2 separate regions of the Homo sapiens genome follow, and region 1 is linked to region 2. Evidence: promoter capture Hi-C in 16 types of primary human blood cells and fetal thymus (Javierre and others, 2016). All regions are on one chromosome and are shown on one strand. The core of a region is centred on a gene start or on the middle of the fragment in contact, and the rest is flanking DNA. Distances in the headings are between cores, read along the strand shown.

Evidence for each region. Contacts are between HindIII fragments. The CHiCAGO score rates a contact against its expected background, and 5 or more counts as called.
Region 1: a contact is called between a fragment that was not itself captured here and the fragment with the promoter of LINC01888 in region 2, in 10 of 17 cell types (naive CD4 T cells, total CD4 T cells, total B cells and 7 more). The highest score is 9.5, in naive CD4 T cells.

Annotation. Positions count from the first base shown.
Region 1 is chr2:68,490,629-68,493,675 of GRCh38, reverse strand. The region is part of intron 2 of APLF (aprataxin and PNKP like factor); the gene reads right to left. Among named protein-coding and RNA genes, the nearest start is that of APLF, 25 kb to the right of the region's middle. The HindIII fragment of the contact is 4,870 bases long and covers 1-3,047 here.
Region 2 is chr2:68,830,628-68,833,752 of GRCh38, reverse strand. LINC01888 (long intergenic non-protein coding RNA 1888) reads right to left here and starts at 1,745. Exons shown (of 2, transcript NR_183895.1): 1 at 1,601-1,745. It overlaps LINC01890 (long intergenic non-protein coding RNA 1890), which reads left to right. Exons shown (of 4, transcript NR_183884.1): 2 at 703-921; 3 at 2,248-2,393. The HindIII fragment of the contact is 9,437 bases long and covers 621-3,125 here.

The sequences.
Region 1 (3,047 bases), core at 526-3,025, 340 kb after region 2:
TTTTTTCTTTATAAATTACCCAGTCTCAGGTATTTCTTTATGTCAATGCATGAATGGCCTAATTACGTGTTCCAATTACATGTGTTTCAAATATCTTCTCCCTGTTGTAGTTATCATTTTCATTATAGTGTCTTTTGATAAACGAAGTTTCTTATTTTTATTTCATTGGCTTTTACCAACTGTTTTTATGGTTCATGCTTTTTATATCCTGTTTAAAAACCCTTCCCTACTCTAAAGTCATAAGGGTTTTTCCCTATATTATATTCTAAGAGTTTTATAGTTTGACTCTCACATTTAATCTACCTGGAGTAGATTTTTGGGTCTGCAGTAGGGATCTAATTTTTTTTTCCAAACAGATAACTGTCCCAGTACCATTTACTGATAAAAACTCCTCTTCCCCACTGATACGCAATGCTAGCCCTGGCCCAGTCAAATTTCCACATACATAAGTCCAAATCTAAGGTTGCTTTCAGTTCTAAAATATTATTCAACTGAAGGCACTAAAACTTCTTGTTAAGACAGATCATCAATTAGTTGTAACTTGAAGAAATTTTTTTAAAGAAAAGACACCCAATGCCAAGAGAATCCTGACTTCAGAAACATAACAACAACAAAAAAATACTACAGAGTTCAAAGAACCTGGGCTCTCATTCCCATTCTAGAATTTGCTGAGTATTTAAGATCAGACGTTCTCCAGAAGGCTATGACATTCTAAGTTGTCAAAAAAAGGTACTCGAAAAAGGATAAAAAAGAGCTACCTTTCTCCCATGTCTAAACATCACATTTATGGGAAAGTTTACAAAATTACACTAAATAATATTTAAAAGATCATAAACAGAGGTATAACTTAAATAAATCATTCCAAATTTTAGTTTTATATCTAGTGGTCATGAGGAATTTTTGCTCTAGCTTCTAGTATTATTTCTACTACAGTTTTGTGCTCAAAAGACACCTGTTAATGTCATACATAGTGGTTTTATGATCTGCGTACCATCTAATTAAAGACCCAGTAAAAGTGAAGAGTATTTTAAAAAGGAGCCTTTTTATAACTGAACACTGCTAAAATCTCACATAGAAATTTGGCTCAGTACATACTGGATAAAATTTAACTCAAGGTAAGATTTTCAACTAATAAAATCACCTTTAATTTGGGCATATTTATTTTACATTATTAGTACTCTTTTTTTGTTTGTTTTTTGAGGCGGAGTCTCGTTCTGTCGCCCAGGCTGGAGTGCAGTGGCACAATCTCGGCTCACTGCAAGCTCCGCCTCCCGGGTTCACGCCATTCTCCTGCCTCAGCCTCCAGAGTAGCTGGGACTACAGGCGCCCACCACCGTGCCCGGCTAATTTTTTGTATTTTTAGTAGAGACGGCGTTTCACCGTGTTAGCCAGGATGGTCTCGATCTCCTGACCTCGTGATCCACCCACCCCGGCCTCCCAAAGTGCTGGGATTACAGACGTGAGCCACCGCGCCCAGCCTTATTAGTACTCTTTTGAATAGCCACAAAAGTACAAAATATATCTGAATAATTTTCAGCCAAGTATAGACACAACTCCAACTAAGCACCTTTATTAAAGCCAATTTATAAAACATTTTAAAATATAAATGTCCTTGATTAACACTGAGAAAAAATGTAAATGTTTAAAATATTCATGCATTAGTAAATATGACGGTTTTCTAATCACCTATTTTTGATATAAAAAAATTTAATGCCATGTCAATTTTGTTATAAGAAGGGTTTCTTCTTATCATTGAGTAAACAAAGAGTGTAAAGAGAAAATCTGATATCTATTGAGTTGTCCACAATTCCACTGGTTAATTTGTTCACAAAATAAATGTGCTGACATGGACACAGTGGCAGAGCAGACACTGGAGACTCAGAAGGGTGGTAGTGTGAGAGGTGGGACAGGGTTGAGAAATTACCTAATGGGTACAATGTACACTATTCAGGTGACGGTTACACTAAAAGCTCAGATTTCACCATTTCACAATATAATCATGTAACAAAACTGCACTGCACTCCCTAAATCTATATAAATAAAAAATAATCATTTCTATATTTCAAGATCCCTCTATTCTTTCCTTTAATGTGCTTTAGTAACAACAAAAAAACTTATTTTAGGCCATGGTAGTTCATTGGCAGGGTATTAGAAATTGGGCACTAGAGAATAACATACTTTTGTAAAAATCTACCATGTTCCCACTCCTAGATATGCCATAGATAGTTCTCACCACAGCGTTTACTCATGCATTCAACAAATATTAATTAAATACCTACTATGTCTTAGGCACTATGCTAAACACTAGGGATACAAAGATTAGTCAGAGTTCCTACACTCAAGGGCCTTATGATCCAGTATGTCATCTCAGAAGAATAAGATAGCTGGAGAGGATACAGAGATGAATATCTAATGGTAAATACAGTGGCTCCTAAAGAAGTGTTGACTCCAGATATTAACACTTTTTCAAGACAATAAGATAATGCAGAATGAAGATGAGACATAAACTCTTTTAAAGATTATTTATTCAAGGTTGAGATAAGGTGAATACATTGAATAATTTTTTATTCAAAAAATTTCCAAGTACTAAAATTAAAAAGATGCTTTCCAAATTTGCAAACAGTTAAACATAGGATAATAAAAGCAAGTACTATCTGTGTAAAAGAAAGAACTAATGATTTAACAGGCAGTGGTATATAAAATATGAAAATACAAATTGGTTTTAAAAAGTTATAAATTAATGAATTCCATGAAATTTTACCACCATACGATCTAGTCTAAAATAAATGGACCCTTATGTACGTATTTCATTCTCTTACACAATAGACTCTGCAAATGAAAAGGAATAATCACATTGTATATTCTTGGAAACTGGCTGTCCCTGCATATCATCAGTGATTTCGCAGCAGTAAACTATAAAGCAAGCAATTAAAATTCGAGCCCTCAACAAAAACTTTCAAATTAAAATCATTTTTCAAACCTCGAAGTTGAACAAAGTCTAAGTTTTAGAAATATTCAACTCTATACAGAGTGATAGAGAATATGTT
Region 2 (3,125 bases), core at 496-2,995:
AGGAAGAATATGAACCATTATCTTCAATGTGAATGTGGACTAGTTATTACTTTTATGGTCATTACTTAGACACAGGTTGTTTCCTTTGACACTCAAGCCACTGTGGTTGGATGATCCAATACTAGAATCAGGTAGACGTGGTTTTGATGCTTGCTTCTGTCAGTTATATTTTCTCAGTTCTAAGTAGCCATCAATTTGTAAGATGTTCCATTTTAAATGCACCAATCAACTATAAAATACATACTGAATTTCAAAAGTATTAGAATGAAAAAAAAATGTCTCTTAGAAATGGGATATGAACTGTGAGCCTGAGCAGATTACTTAACCTTTCTAAGTCTCGGTTTTCTCATCTGTAAAATGGGGATGATAGTAGCCGCTGCCTCATAGTTTTCTGTGAAAATTAATTAATACATTGCAGGTAAAGCAGAAAACACCATGCTTAGGGAATTGAAAGCACTCAATATTTGCATTTTTAAAAACTATGTCTTTAGTCAAGCATAACTCTTTTAAAATGCCATTAACTATAGGAGGAAGAATCAGTGTTGTAACATTTTGCTATTCCTTGAGTACAATCTATGTGTACTAAGAAAAGACATCATTGGTAACACAACTACCAAGCTTATCTAGGGATCAGCTATCTCAAGATAGGCATAGCAATTGCTGGATGCCATATGATTTCCATGTATTTTATTTCTCCAATAGCACTCACATTCTTTGGGAGCTGTATTCTAATACTTTCAGAAAAGCCATGGGAACACACCAGAGTGACTGCTCGAGTAAATAAGTAGCATAAACAGCAAGCCAAACCATTGATGTACACATCACTGGGCCCAATACTATGAAATCCCACATAAGAAACTTGAAAGTGAAAGCTGGAATTCTGAGGATACTGGTTTTGCTTAATAAACAGCATTTCAACAGGTGAGTCAACTTAGTATTGCAGAGCGTGGTGTTGGCTTTTTTCTGATTGGGGCTAGTTTTTCATTAAAGGCAATATCTAGCACTGAAATAGACAACAGTACCTAGTCCCAACCACCTGCTTCCTGGTGAGTCAGTTCAAGTTCTCACAATTGTGTCTGTGTCCAGCCCCAGACCAGCTGAGCTGGGTCATGTGCTCACCCAGATCTTTCCCTAAAAGAGGACTGACAGGGAAACCACTGCCCTCTTTCACATCCAGGGAAGGAGTGACTTCTAAGAGAAATAGGGTTTTGTTTCCTCGCCAAAGTGTCAGGAATGATCAAATGTGAAAAACAGAGGGCAAATCCGTGTTAGTGCGTCATTAGGTGGGTGTTTCTAAAGTGATCACATGGTAACACTTCCTCTGCTCGCTGACCCACCAGGAGTGTTTTGGAAACAGTCAGCCCACGTGAAATGGGCTGAAGACATCCCAGTGTCCTCCTCTCAGAAGCTGTGAGCCCCAGTCAGGGCGGGCTGTCTTAGCCTGTAAACGTCCACAGGGCCAGAGCCTATATTTAACTGATGACACATCTTACAAGGGGGAAGGGAAGGGGAATCTGTGACCCTGTTTCCTCCCACCAACACCAGCCCATTCACACAGAGTCTTTTGAAGGTCTCACTGGCAGTACTCCTTCAAACTTACCCAATATGCCCCACTCAAAGGCCCTCCCAGGCTTGTGGGAACAGAAAGATTTCTTGAAATGGAAAGGAGGGTTGTGAATGAGTGAGGAAATTCAGCATGGAGATATGAGAGGCTCACTCTTTAGCCACACGGAACCGGGGACTCCAAGGCAACCCCATTCCCAGAGTTCTTTCGAGGGTGGGGCTAATGACATGGGACCAAGAATTGACTCCAGGAAAGGGCATGGTGATGTGTGGCCTCCCAGACAGCCTCAGAGCAAGCAGGTGGATTTGACTTAGGCTGTGGGGAAGGCAACAGCCTCTGTATATTTTTCCATCTTGATGCTGAGTCAGACAAGGCAGTTAGTGGTTCTTTCCAGAATCCCTGCCAGCCTTTTAAAGAAAAAGTCTTTGCAGATTTTGCTTTAGTCCATCTCTGCCAAGGGGTCATTTTCTATGTTGTACTTCCTCCCTATGTGAGGGCAAGGATAATGTAGCCTTGTGTAGACTGTATATACGCTTCAGTTCCTAGCTAAGCCACATTGAGACCTCAGTAAAACAGGTTTGATTGCAATCAGAAAAGAGTTGATTTGAGATTTAAAGGAAATGACATGGATACAGTGCTCACCAGAAAGTATTAAAATGGTATTTGTTGCTTATTATTGGTAGTTATTGTCATGATATTGCTACTGATGCTGAACAAAGACCCAAGAACCAGGGTGATGTTTAGCATGGGCTGGCCTCAGCAGGACTGAAAGGACATCAATAAGGGAGAACAGAGAGAAGGAAGGAGGACAAGTGCCAACTTTGAGCAGGTATCAGGTGTATGTGGGGGCAAACCATTTCTCCGTCCACCCTGATGATGAGTCCCCGTTTCCCTTTTTAAGGCCTGATTTTTGCACCCTCACCCCACCTAAGGCAGCCAGGGGCCCACACTGCAATACTCCTAGGTAACATCCATACTTTTTTTTTTTTTTTGAGATAGAGTCTCCCACTGTCACCCAGGTTGGAGTGCAATGGCGAGATCTCGGCTCACTGCAACCTCCGCCTCTCAGGTTCACGTGATTCTCCTGCCTCAGCCTCCAGAGTAGCTGGGATTACAGGCGCACACCACCATACCCGGCTAATTTTTTGTATTTTTGGTAGAGACAGGGTTTCACTATGTTGGCCAGACTGGCGTCGAACTCCTGACCTCGTGATCTGCCCGCCTCGGCCTCCCAAAGTGCTGGGATTACAGGCGTGAGCCACTGTGCCTGGCCAACATCCATACTCTTGATCTGTTCCTCCACCCACAGCACTGCTTATCTGGCCAGGCTCTCGTTCCTTCATTACACAGCTTTCTGCTGGGAAGCAGATAACTAATATAAAGATGATACTAACGATTAATGGAGGCTTCATGGAGTCTCCCAGAAATATCACGTTTGTGGTTAATATTCCAAAGGCTACTGGTAGGGATTTCTCAATCTAACATGAGTCTGAAAAAGAGATGATTTTCATCAGAGCTATTCTCGGGACTCTTTAAATCAGGCCCTCAAGTGCTTATCTTC